2 separate regions of the Homo sapiens genome follow, and region 1 is linked to region 2. The links are contacts of gene promoters, found by promoter capture Hi-C in human tissues and cell types (Jung and others, 2019). All regions are on one chromosome and are shown on one strand. The core of a region is centred on a gene start or on the middle of the fragment in contact, and the rest is flanking DNA. Distances in the headings are between cores, read along the strand shown.

What was found. The method cuts DNA at HindIII sites, captures the fragments that hold promoters and counts their contacts. A contact is called where the count stands out against the background at its distance.
Region 1: a fragment that was not itself captured here is called in contact with the fragment with the promoter of CNGA1 in region 2 in 1 of the 25 tissues and cell types used here (lymphoblastoid cells).

Annotation. Positions count from the first base shown.
Region 1 is chr4:48,051,840-48,059,183 of GRCh38, reverse strand. No RefSeq gene overlaps it. Among named protein-coding and RNA genes, the nearest start is that of NIPAL1, 39 kb to the right of the region's middle. The HindIII fragment of the contact is 4,706 bases long and covers 1-3,909 here.
Region 2 is chr4:48,013,429-48,020,292 of GRCh38, reverse strand. CNGA1 (cyclic nucleotide gated channel subunit alpha 1) reads left to right here and starts at 3,612. Exons shown (of 11, transcript NM_001379270.1): 1 at 3,612-3,810. It overlaps NIPAL1 (NIPA like domain containing 1), which reads right to left and starts at 3,521. Exons shown (of 6, transcript NM_207330.3): 1 at 3,408-3,521. The coding sequence starts at 3,453. RefSeq lists silencers at 2,886-3,045, 3,336-3,665 and an enhancer at 3,430-3,931. The HindIII fragment of the contact is 8,867 bases long and covers 368-6,864 here.

The DNA of each region.
Region 1 (7,344 bases), core at 307-2,806, 41 kb before region 2:
AAAGCCAGCCTCTCGCCTCCAGATCAGCACATTTCTGTTTCATCTTTAAGCACCACCCTCAACCCACTCTGGATGTCACAAAATGATATCCAGATTGTCTTCACTGGATCTAAGTCTCAAACACTATTTTCATTCTGGGGAACTTAGGTGTTATAAGAAGCACAAACCTTGTGAATCACAATCCTGCCTTTTTTTCCTGGCATGAGAGTGGGGAAGGAGAGGCTTTATTACTTACTTTTTGATGAACTTCCAAACTTTCAAAACCAAATGAAATGTCTTTTTATCAGTGAGTTGCTTTTCTCTTAAAAACATACGCAGTTCCTTTACCCATATTGTACTTGTGCTCTTTCCTGTGTCTGCCTTGAATTGTGTTACCATGGGAACAACTTGTAGACACTAGCAACACTGAGGGTGCAAGTAGGGGCAATATGCTTTTCAGGTTTCCTAACGACAGGGTGTGTGGTATGTGCAAGGTCAGTTTCTCAGCTCTCTTTGGAGAATCTTCTTCATTCAGACTCTAGTTTCTCCAGATCCAAGTGTTCTTGGATCTCAGCACAGTTCACATTTTGGGCTGGATAATTGTTTGTTGTAGGAGGACGTGCTGTGTGTTGGAGGATATTTAGTAGCATCTTTGGCCTTTACCCATTAGATGCCAATACCCCTCCCCCAGGAGAAACAACCAAAAATGTCTCTAGAACATTGCCAAATGTCCCCTGGGGGATGAGAACCACTGATTTCATTACCAAAGGATCTTGCCCTGGGTTTAAGGAGGTCCATGGACTTGGATGGAGAAAAAATTACATCTTTATTTTTATTAATCTCTAAGCTTTAGCATTTCCCATAATTCTAAATGTGAATTCATATTTAGAATTCTAAATGTGAATTTACATTTAGAATTATGGGAAAAAACAAAACTCTAGTACTTTCTATAAGCAGTTTCTGTGACTGTCAAAATATGAAAAACTATTATTTTCATATCATGGGAGATTTTTCAACTTTCTCAATTTACATTCATCACTACTTCAAAGTTGCGATAGTTTTTAGAACTGTCACTAGATCTTGTCATTTAACACAATAAAAAAGACATATTATGAAAACACATTTGTTTTTTAAATATTTTGATAACTTTATGTCAATATAATTGGTTTCCTATTTAGTTCTATGTAATTCTATTTTATGCATTTAAAAACATTATTCCAGGGAGGAGCCAAGATGGCCGAATAGGAACAGCTCCGGTCTACAGCTCCCAGCGTGAGCGACGCAGAAGACGGGTGATTTCTGCATTTCCATCTGAGGTACCGGGTTCATCTCACTAGGGAGTGCCAGACAGTGGGCGCAGGCCAGTGTGTGCGTGCACCGTGCGCGAGCCGAAGCAGGGCAAGGCATTGCCTCACCTGGGAAGCGCAAGGGGTCAGGGAGTTCCCTTTCCGAGTCAAAGAAAGGGGTGACAGACGCACCTGGAAAATCGGGTCACTCCCACCCGAATATTGCGCTTTTCAGACCGGCTTAAAAAACGGCGCACCACGAGACTATATCCCACACCTGGCTCAGAGGGTCCTACGCCCACGGAATCTCACTGATTGCTAGCACAGCAGTCTGAGATCAAACTGCAAGGCGGCAACGAGGCTGGGGGAGGGGCGCCCACCATTGCCCAGGCTTGCTTAGGTAAACAAAGCAGCTGGGAAGCTCGAACTGGGTGGAGCCCACCACAGCTCAAGGAGGCCTGCCTGCCTCTGTAGGCTCCACCTCTGGGGGCAGGGCACAGACAAACAAAAAGACAGCAGTAACCTCTGCAGACTTAAGTGTCCCTGTCTGACAGCTTTGAAGAGAGCAGTGGTTCTCCCAGCACGCAGCTGGAGATCTGAGAACGGGCAGACTGCCTCCTCAAGTGGGTCCCTGACCCCTGACCCCCGAGCAGCCTAACTGGGAGGCACCCCCCAGCAGGGGCACACTGACACCTCACACGGCAGGGTATTCCAACAGACCTGCAGCTGAGGGTCCTGTCTGTTAGAAGGAAAACTAACAACCAGAAAGGACATCTACACCGAAAACCCATCTGTACATCACCATCATCAAAGACCAAAAGTAGATAAAACCACAAAGATGGGGAAAAAACAGAACAGAAAAACTGGAAACTCTAAAACGCAGAGCACCTCTCCTCCTCCAAAGGAACGCAGTTCCTCACCAGCAATGGAACAAAGCTGGATGGAGAATGATTTTGACGAGCTGAGAGAAGAAGGCTTCAGACGATCAAATTACTCTGAGCTATGGAAGGACATTCAAACCAAAGGCAAAGAAGTTGAAAACTTTGAAAAAATTTAGAAGAATGTATAACTAGAATAACCAATACAGAGAAGTGCTTAAAGGAGCTGATGGAGCTGAAAACCCAAGGCTCGAGAACCACGTGAAGAATGCAGAAGCCTCAGGAGCCGATGCGATCAACTGGAAGAAAGGGTATCAGCAATGGAAGATGAAATGAATGAAATGAAGCGAGAAGGGAAGTTTAGAGAAAAAAGAATAAAAAGAAATGAGCAAAGCCTCCAAGAAATATGGGACTATGTGAAAAGACCAAATCTACGTCTGATTGGTGTACCTGAAAGTGATGTGGAGAAGGGAACCAAGTTGGAAAACACTCTGCAGGATATTATCCAGGAGAACTTCCCCAATCTAGCAAGGCAGGCCAACGTTCAGATTCAGGAAATACAGAGAACGCCACAAAGATACTCCTCGAGAAGAGCAACTCCAAGACACATAATTGTCAGATTCAACAAAGTTGAAATGAAGGAAAAAATGTTAAGGGCAGCCAGAGAGAAAGATCGGGTTACCCTCAAAGGAAAGCCCATCAGACTAACAGCGGATCTCTCGGCAGAAACCCTACAAGCCAGAAGAGAGTGGGGGCCAATATTCAACATTCTTAAAGAAAAGAATTTTCAACCCAGAATTTCATATCCAGCCAAACTAAGCTTCATAAGTGAAGGAGAAATAAAATACTTTATAGACAAGCAAATGCTGAGAGATTTTGTCACCACCAGGCCTGCCCTAAAAGAGCTCCTGAAGGAAGCGCTAAACATGGAAAGGAACAACCGGTACCAGCCGCTGCAAAATCATGCCAAAATGTAAAGACCATCGAGACTAGGAAGAAACTGCATCAACTAACAAGCAAAATCACCAGCTAACATCATAATGACAGGATCAAATTCACACATAACAATATTAACTTTAAATATAAATGGACTAAATTCTGCAATTAAAAGACACAGACTGGCAAGTTGGATAAAGAGTCAAGACCCATCAGTGTGCTGTATTCAGGAAACCCATCTCACGTGCAGAGACACACATAGGCTCAAAATAAAAGGATGGAGGAAGATTTACCAAGCCAATGGAAAACAAAAAAAGGCAGGGGTTGCAATCCTAGTCTCTGATAAAACAGACTTTAAACCAACAAAGATCAAAAGAGACAAAGAAGGCCATTACATAATGGTAAAGGGATCAATTCAACAAGAGGAGCTAACTATCCTAAATATTTATGCACCCAATACAGGAGCACCCAGATTCATAAAGCAAGTCCTGAGTGACCTACAAAGAGACTTAGACTCCCACACATTAATAATGGGAGACTTTAACACCCCACTGTCAACATTAGACAGATCAACGAGACAGAAAGTTAACAAGGATACCCAGGAATTGAACTCAGCTCTGCACCAAGCGGACCTAATAGACATCTACAGAACTCTCCACCCCAAATCAACAGAATATACATTTTTTTCAGCACCACACCACACCTATTCCAAAATTGACCACATAGTTGGAAGTAAAGCTCTCCTCAGCAAATGTAAAAGAACAGAAATTATAACAAACTATCTCTCAGACCACAGTGCAATCAAACTAGAACTCAGGATTAAGAATCTCACTCAAAGCCGCTCAACTACATGGAAACTGAACAACCTGCTCCTGAATGACTACTGGGTACATAACGAAATGAAGGCAGAAATAAAGATGTTCTTTGAAACCAACGAGAGCAAAGACACCACATACCAGAATCTCTGGGACGCATTCAAAGCAGTGTGTAGAGGGAAATTTATAGCTCTAAATGCCTACAAGAGAAAGCAGGAAAGATCCAAAATTGACACCCTAACATCACAATTAAAAGAACTAGAAAAGCAAGAGCAAACACATTCAAAAGCTAGCAGAAGGCAAGAAATAACTAAAATCAGAACAGAACTGAAGGAAATAGAGACACAAAAAACCCTTCAAAAAATCAATGAATCCAGGAGCTGGTTTTTTGAAAGGATCAACAAAATTGATAGACCGCTAGCAAGACTAATAAAGAAAAAAAGAGAGAAGAATCAAATAGACACAATAAAAAATGATAAAGGGGATATCACCACCGATCCCACAGAAATACAAACTACCATCAGAGAATACTACAAACACCTCTATGCAAATAAACTAGAAAATCTAGAAGAAATGGATACATTCCTCGACACATACACTCTCCCAAGACTAAACCAGGAAGAAGTTGAATCTCTGAATAGACCAATAACAGGATCTGAAATTGTGGCAATAATCAATAGTTTACCAACCAAAAAGAGTCCAGGACCAGATGGATTCACAGCCGAATTCTACCAGAGGTGCAAGGAGGAACTGGTACCATTCCTTCTGAAACTATTCCAATCAGTAGAAAAAGAGGGAATCCTCCCTAACTGATTTTATGAGGCCAGCATCATTCTGATACCAAAGCCGGGCAGAGACACAACCAAAAAAGAGAATTTTAGACCAATATCCTTGATGAACATTGATGCAAAAATCCTCAATAAAATACTGGCAAACCAAATCCAGCAGCACATCAAAAAGCTTATCCACCATGATCAAGTGGGCTTCATCCCTGGGATGCAAGGCTGGTTCAATATACGCAAATCAATAAATGTAATCCAGCATATAAACAGAGCCAAAGACAAAAACCACATGATTATCTCAATAGATGCAGAAAAAGCCTTTGACAAAATTCAACAACCCTTCATGCTAAAAACTCTCAATAAATTAGGTATTGATGGGACGTATTTCAAAATAATAAGAGCTATCTATGACAAACCCACAGCCAATATCATACTGAATGGGCAAAAACTGGAAGCATTCCCTTTGAAAACTGGCACAAGACAGGGATGCCCTCTCTCACCGCTCCTATTCAACATAGTGTTGGAAGTTCTGGCCAGGGCAATCAGGCAGGAGAAGGAAATAAAGGGTATTCAATTAGGAAAAGAGGAAGTCAAATTGTCCCTGTTTGCAGACGACATGATTGTTTATCTAGAAAACCCCATCGTCTCAGCCCAAAATCTCCTTAAGCTGATAAGCAACTTCAGCAAAGTCTCAGGATACAAAATCAATGTACAAAAATCACAAGCATTCTTATACACCAACAACAGACAAACAGAGAGCCAAATCATGAGTGAACTCCCATTCACAATTGCTTCAAAGAGAATAAAATACCTAGGAATCCAACTTACAAGGGATGTGAAGGACCTCTTCAAGGAGAACTACAAACCACTGCTCAAGGAAATAAAAGAGGACACAAACAAATGGAAGAACATTCCATGCTCATGGGTAGGAAGAATCAATATCGTGAAAATGGCCATACTGCCCAAGGTAATTTACAGATTCAATGCCATCCCCATCAAGCTACCAATGACTTTCTTCACAGAATTGGAAAAAACTACTTTAAAGTTCATATGGAACCAAAAAAGAGCCCGCATCGCCAAGTCAATCCTAAGCCAAAAGAACAAAGCTGGAGGCATCACACTACCTGACTTCAAACTATACTACAAGGCTACAGTAACCAAAACAGCATGGTACTGGTACCAAAACAGAGATATAGATCAATGGAACAGAACAGAGCCCTCAGAAATAATGCCACATATCTACAACTATCTGATCTTTGACAAACCTGAGAAAAACAAGCAATGGGGAAAGGATTCCCTATTTAATAAATGGTGCTGGGAAAACTGGCTAGCCATATGTAGAAAGCTGAAACTGGATCCCTTCCTTACACCTTATACAAAAATCAATTCAAGATGGATTAAAGATTTAAACGTTAGACCTAAAACCATAAAAACCCTAGAAGAAAACCTAGGCATTACCATTCAGGACATAGGCGTGGGCAAGGACTTCATGTCCAAAACACCAAAAGCAATGGCAACAAAAGCCAAAATTGACAAATGGGATCTAATTAAACTAAAGAGCTTCTGCACAGCAAAAGAAACTACCATCAGAGTGAACGGGCAACCTACAACATGGGAGAAAATTTTCTCAACCTACTCATCTGACAAAGGGCTAATATCCAGAATCTACAATGAACTCAAACAAATTTACAAGAAAAAAACAAACAACCCCATCAAAAAGTGGGCAAAGGACATGAACAGACACTTCTCAAAAGAAGACATTTATGCAGCCAACAGACACATGAAGAAATGCTCATCATCACTGGCCATCAGAGAAATGCAAATCAAAACCACTATGAGATATCATCTCACACCAGTTAGAATGGCAATCATTAAAAAGTCAGGAAACAACAGGTGCTGGAGAGGATGTGGAGAAATAGGAACACTTTTACACTGTTGGTGGGACTGTAAACTAGTTCAACCATTGTGGAAGTCAGTGTGGCGATTCCTCAGGGATCTAGAACTAGAAATACCATTTGACCCAGCCATCCCATTACTGGGTATATACCCAAATGACTATAAATCATGCTGCTATAAAGACACATGCACACGTATGTTTATTGCGGCATTATTCACAATAGCAAAGACTTGGAACCAACCCAAATGTCCAACAATGATAGACTGGATTAAGAAAATGTGGCACATATACACCATGGAATACTATGCAGCCATAAAAAATGATGAGTTCATGTCCTTTGTAGGGACATGGATGAGATTGGAAACCATCATTCTCAGTAAACTATCGCAAGAACAAAAAACCAAACACCGCATATTCTCACTCATAGGTGGGAATTGAACAATGAGATCACATGGACACAGGAAGGGGAATATCACACTCTGGGGATTGTGGTGGGGTCGGGGGAGGGGGGAGAGATAGCATTGGGAGATATACCTAATGCTAGATGACACGTTAGTGGGTACAGCGCACCAGCATGGCACATGTATACATATGTAACTAACCTGCACAATGTACACATGTACCCTAAAACTTAAAGTATAATAATAAAAAAAAAACATTATTCCAGCTAGGCATGGTGGTACACGTCTGTAGTCCCAGCTATTCAGGAGGCTGAGATAGGAGGATCACTTGTGCCCAGAAGGTCAAGGCTGCAGTGAACTGTTTGTGCCA
Region 2 (6,864 bases), core at 2,363-4,862:
CTTACAACAAAATCTCAACTCCTCACTAACTTTGAACTTTAAAGCTTCTCATGCTCTGAAACTGGCTCGTCTCTGACATCATATTGCATTACTCTCCCTCTCACCCCTCTCTGAAACACTAATCTTCTTTTCCTTCATTCAACAAATATGTATGGTGTACTACCTGTTGGGCATTTTCTAGAATCTGGAGATAGAAAAATGAATACAACAATGGTCCCGCTCTCTTATATTCCAGTGGGGGCAGATAGGATTAACAAACAAATAACTATACGTATGTTAAGAGTGCCATAGCAAGTAGTAAAAGCAGCATCAAGGAATATATTTTTTAAAACAGGATTAAACAAAAGAGCCTCTCTGCTAAGTCTAAAAGCAGAAACCCTGAGGGGTTGAAGAAACTGCAGTCAGCCAGGTTGCCTGGGGTGACAGAAAGGGAGATGGTATGAGATGTGGCTAAAGAGTAGGTGGGAGAAGGATCAGGTGAAATGAACCTTTAGACAAGTAGGTCTGATCTTGTCATTCCTCCTTCCAAAACTCCACAAGGGCTTCCCTTCTCATTCCGAAAAAAATCCAAAATTCCCACTATAGCCTATAAGGCCCTGTGGAATCCTGTCTCCAGCTGCCTAACCTCATTCCCTACTATTGCCTTTTCTTCTGTTCCTTTCATAGAATAAGTTCCTTCTCACCTTAAGCTTTTTAAAAAGCAGCTGTTCCTGAGCCTGTTACAGAGTGCTGGCTGGCATAGCTAGCTTCTTCTGAGTGAGAGGACTAAGCAACTCAGAGAGGCCTTTCCTGCCTTCCCAATCTAAAGGAACCTCTCAGTCACTTTCCATCATATGTTCCCAATCAAATAGACTTCCTCATATGGCTTAATTACAGCTTTATAACAACCTTCATACATATTTGCATTTGTTTCTTTTAAAGATAATTTTGGATTAGAGACTCTTTTGAAGCATCTATAGCTTTAAAAGTCAAAACCAATGTGGGGTGGGGGATGGCTCATGCCTGTAAACCCAGCACTTTGGGATGCCAAGGTAGGAGTATCACTTGAAGTCAGGAGTTCAAGACCAGCCTGGTCAACACAGTGAAACCCGTATTAAAAATACAAAAATTAGCTGGGCATGGTGGCATGTGCCTGTATTCCCAGCTACTTGAGAGGCTGAGGCAGGAGAATTGCTTGAACCCAGGTGGAAGTTGCAGTGAGCTGAAATTGCACCACTGCATGCCATCCTGGGTGACGGAGTGGCACTCCGCCTCAAAAAAACAAAAAAAAGTCAAAACCAAAGTATGAAATTAACTTTTTCTTCATGGAAGTTCAACTGGAATGTTCTATCTTCAGATCTCATGACTGACCCCTTGTCATTTGGGTCTCAGCTTGAATATCACTTTCGTAAGGGGCTTTCATTGAATACCCAATCTAAACATCCCAACACTCTTGATACATTACTGCTATTATAATGATCTTTTAAATTACTTTGTTTCTTGCATAGTAGCTGCCATCTGAACAGTAAGGTGCCTGAGAGCAGGAACCTAGTCCTAGAGTCTGGGACCAGACTGTCTTGCAGATCCCTCTATCCCAGCACCTATGCCAGTGCTTGGCACATGGGACTCTTGTTATTTGAATGAACAAGTGAAAAATTGAGTCTTTGTTTACTCCATGTCAAGCTCTGAGTGGTGTAGTTCATATGTAATCCCACCTGCACCTACTCTTCAGAACTGTAAACTGGAGGGATGACCCCCAATTTATAGACAGGAAAATGCTCAAGGAAGCTAAGTTACAGCTCAGACTGTCTGATGCCAAAGCCTAATCTCTTCCCACTACTAATAACGTGCATTCAGATTTCTAAGTCTTTCTCACCAGCTTTTCACACAATTAATTACCATGGTTAATCACAGGTATTAAGCCTGGAGCTTAAATGTTTCTTGTTGGAACTCAATGCATAAGCAAAGCAGGAAAAACATCCAGAAGCTCAAACAAGTGGGTGTAATTCATATACCTTCCTTACTTACAGATCCTTGGGTAAACAAGTGTGGGTGTGTTAGTAACTGTCAGATTTGCTGGGTTAGAAATTATTTAGAAAAAGGGCACACAACCTGACTCTCTAGGAAATAATTCTAGATTCAGCTGCCTTAAAATTTTTGTTTTTTAATAGTTTGTGAGTTGTTCAGGCGTTATTGCTCTTTTTCAGAAAAAAAGACTAGAAAATAATTCTAGATCCAGCGGCCTTAAAAAATTTTTTTTAATAGCTTGTGAATTGTTCAGGCATTTTTCTCCTTTTTTTGGTGTCCCTTCTCTTCCTTGCTAGCATGGTTTGGACGAGCTCACTTGTTAAAAAGGAATAAGCTGGAAGAGTCAAGAGGAGAGGAAACTAGGGAAGTTGCGAGCACCTTTGCAAAGGTGTATATGTATATACATATATATATATATATATGTGTAAGGGAACTATATATATATGTGTATATATATAGTAGTTCTTACCATGCCTTTCACTGCCTCCCTTCCCCTTTACTGCATTATCAGGTAAATTAAAAAGCTGCTTTCCCCTTGGTACGGCGAAAACCATCATTTCAATGTATCTACATCCTTCCAGTCGCTCCCCCTACCCCCTTCCCTACTTTTATCGGGGCCTTCTGTATGGAGACTGCAGAAAACCCGCCAGTGTTGCGAACACTTGGCGAAGGGCAAGGAGCCTCGCCCAGAGATTTCACGGGGCTCAGGTGAGAAGCAGTAAGAAGAGCCTGCAAACGAGTGCTCCCGGTTCCAGGTTTCCTCTCCAGTACGGCTCTCGCCTTAAGCAGCCAGAGTGACTGCACAGCGAGTCAGACAGGCTCATGGGTTTGGAGACCTTTTCATTTCCAAGGAAGAGGAGAGACGTGGGCGGCCCAGACTTGCCCAACGCCCACCCCCGCGGCCCCGGGCGCCCAACCTCTCGCGGTGCTCGATCCCCGGGAGCCAGCGCAGGGCGCAGCGCAGAACTCCCACGGGCCCCCCAGGCAGACACGCCCTCTGCCCACCGGGTGACGTCGGCCGCAGACTCTGGAAGGGAGCCTGAGTCAGAGGAAACGTCCTTCTCAGAGGGACTCGGGATTCTTCCCATAGCATCCTGAGTTTCCCCGTCCCACACGCAGCACGCGGTAATTTACACTGGTCGGCCTCGCGAATCGAGTGGGAGTCCCACCTGCCTTATTCCACTCAGGTTTTCCAGCACAGCCCGAATCGCCTAGGCACCCATAAATAAGTGTTGAACGCCTGGCTGGACGGCCGACTGACTGAATGAATGAATGAGTGAACGACTACGTTTAGAGTCGGTACAGCCCCCCTTTCCAGTCTCCGCAAGTGTCCGGGGACCGCCCACCCGGTCTCTTCGCCACCCAGCTGCCAGGTCCCTCGGCTCAGGGCAGACACAAACCTTCTCGGCAGGGCTCTCCGGGCGGCAGCCTCACCTGTGCCCCCATGGCCCCGGGAGCGGGCTTCCGGAACGCGGGCGCTTGCTCCTCACCTGGGCCTCTCCACACGCACCCGCGGCGGGCGGGGCTGCGGGGTCTGGGAATGGGGCGCCCTGACCCCGCCCCCGGGGCAGCCTCCGCCAATGGGCATGGCCAGGCGGGGCCTCAGCGCCAGCCGAGCCCTGCTGCCCGGGGCTTGTTGCGAATTCTCAGGGCCCCCGCAGGCCTGGGAGCGGCCTGTGATAACTGGTGTATCTGGCAGGAGTAGCAGCTGCCCCTTGGCGCGACTGCTGGAGCCGCGAACTAGAGAAACACAGACACGCCTCATAGAGCAACAGCGTCTCTCGGAGCGTGGAGCCCGCCAAGGTAACTCCGGGAATTGAGTGGAGTGGAGGCTGCACTGAGGCCCCCTTCTGGCTCCTCTCTGGTCGAAAAGGCTCCCCCGCTAGAGAGAGCCCTGCTGCTTTTGGAAGCCTTCAGGTGTTAGTTGCTTTGCACCGAAGCTGCTGACTGCTGGGGTTCTGCGCCGATTGCCAGGCTCAAGTTTATTTTGGGGGCTGCTGAGCAGACTTTGCCCTTCTGTGCTGTTATCAGCTTCTGTCGCTGTCCGTCCACGCCCGCTATATCCATCCACTCTCCGTTCTGTCTCCAGCAGGCAACTCCCCCTACCCTGCCCCATTTTCTGGGTCATAGGGGTATTTGAAATAAACCTTTAAGGGAAAAGCAATGCCAAAACTGGAAAGACTTATTTCCACGAATTATTAATAACTAATGTTTATGATATCCTTGTTATACCATACATATGCAGGCACATTATGTATTAATTAAATCTCACAGCAGTCTATTAACGCTCAGTTTACAGATGAGGGATTAGAGGCAAAGAGTGAGGTTAAGTAACCAAACCAAGGTTGGAAGACCTGATAGCAGGTATTTACAAAACAAGGAGTGGGCAGGGCTGGCGGGTGGCTCACCCCTGTAATCACAGCACTTTGGGAGGTTGAGGCGAGTGGCTCTCTTGAGTCCACAAGTTCGAGACTAGCCTGGGCATCATGGTGAAACCCTGTCTCTACAAAAATTAGCCAGATGTGGTGGTGTACTCCTGTAGTCTCAGCTACTCAGGAGGCTGAGGTGGGAGGACGGATGACTTGAGCCCAGGAGGTGGAGGCTACAGTGAGACATGATCGAACCACTGCACTCTAGTCCAGGCAACAGAGTGAGACCCTGTCTCAAGAAAAAAAAAGGTGAGGGGTGGGGTAGTGAACAATTCGGGCTCAAACCCTCACCAGGGAGAACTGGGGTGCCTTTGTGCTCTGGCATTTTAACACTGAGGAAAATATTCTCATGTACTCAGGTAGCCTTTGTTCTAAGTAGGCATGAACAGTGCTATTAATTTTATTACCTAAGAGTTTCATAGCAGAGGCCTCAATCTTGTTTTTCTTGTTCTTAGGCGGATGAGAGAAGAGCTAAGAACAAATTAGTCAACATACCAGTCCAAGGCACCCACTTTTATAATACATATGGATGACTTTGCAGAGAAGGAACACCACGGAGAGTGGAATAGGTGAAAGTTGAAAGCGAGGGAGATTTATGCCAATTTTCCATAACAAGCCTTAAAACTTAGACTTCTTTTTGTTTGCTTGTTTGTTTGTTTGGCTTGGTTTGGTTTTTTTTGAGACGGAGTCTCGCTCTGTCGCCCAGGCTGGAGTGCAGTGGCGCGATCTCGGCTCACTGCAAGCTCCGCCTCCTGGGTTCACGCCATTCTCCTGCCTCAGCCTCCCGAGTAGCTGGGACTACAGGCGCCCCCCACCACGCCCGGCTAATTTTTTGTATTTTTTTTTTTAGTAGAGATGGGGTTTCACCGTGTTAACCAGCATGCTCTCAATCTCCTGACCTCGTGATCCGCCTACCTCGGCCTCCCAAAGGGCTGGGATTACAGGCGTGAGCCACCTAGCCCGGCCCAAAACTTAGACTTCTATTTAAACGTTTTCTTTGGATTTCCAACTTAAAATTTTGTCTTTATCAAAAATTAGTAATGATGGTAAACGTGATCTATGGTGCTTATTTTTTATTTAACAAACACTTGGATAGCATTTACTATGTGGCAAGCACTATTCTAATCTCTTTGTAAATATTTGCTTTATAAATCTTCATGAAAATCCTGTAAGGTAGATACTACTACCCCCACTTTACAGCTGAGGAAATGGAGGCACACAAAGATTGAGTAACTGGCCTATGCACACATAACCAGTAAGTGTGGAACCAAGATGCTAACCAAGAAAGCTGGGCTTCAAGTATGTGCTCTTAACCCATTTGGTAATTGGACATTAAAAAACAAAACAGACTTTAAAAAATGTATCTTTATTGAATTTCAGTTGCATATTAAGGTCTACTTTAGGTAAGAGGCATTTTGTTGTAGTTCTTGCTTTTCAATTCTGAAAATAAAGAGAAAAAATTCAGAAAAAAAATATTTAAACTCATTTAAGACCACTGCTTTTCCAGTTTAAATGTTGCCTAGCAGAAATTTATAATATGTATTTTCCTTCATTGATAATTTCTAGATGACTTTGGGGAATACCGTTATAGTACCACACACTGTCTTTAATGACATAAAGTTGGGGGATATTTATTCCCCCGCAAAATCATGTTGTTTGTTTAACTAAAAGAAGAGCATTAAAAAAATCTCCAACTAGCCCATTCTTTGATTCTAGGAAAATTACTCTTCTGACTCAAAAATTAGAATGCGATAATAACTGAGACCCTCTAAAATGCCAACTTCTGTTTTATTGGTCTTTGTGCTAGGACACTTAGACCCAGGGGTGATGGTCAAAATAAATAATGATTAGTAGAGCCTTAGGGCCTCAAGGGACAAGGCCACAGGTCTTTCGAGCTTGGGGAGGTCTGGGAGGGTTCCTGGTGTGTCAAGGTTAACCCCTGAGTTGCTACATTGTAGGGAGGTCTGTGGTTTCTGGGGCAAGGAATAAGATGACTAGACAAGAGGGGTGGTAGCTGGGGAGTAGAAACCACCTTTGCAAAAATTATATCACTGAGAAAATTTTAACAGTAAGCTGAGTAATTCATCCTCCATCTTGCCTTTCCCTTAATTATTCCTGGGTTATTGAGTTGTGAAAGAAAATCAATAGTGGAGCCCCCAAATCACTAAGCTAAAGGGAAAAGTGAAGCTTGGAACTGCTTAGGGCCAACCTGCCTCCCATTCTATTCAAACTCACACCTCTGCTCACTGACATATCTGATCGCCTCCTTTGGAGAGGCTAGTCAGAAACTCAAAATAATGCAACCATTTGTCTCTTATCTACCTATGACCTGGAAAGCCCCGTCCCTGGTTCCAGTATTCCTGCCTTTGCTTTGAGTTGTCCCGTCTTTCCAGACAGAACCAATGTTCATCTTGCATATGTTGATTGA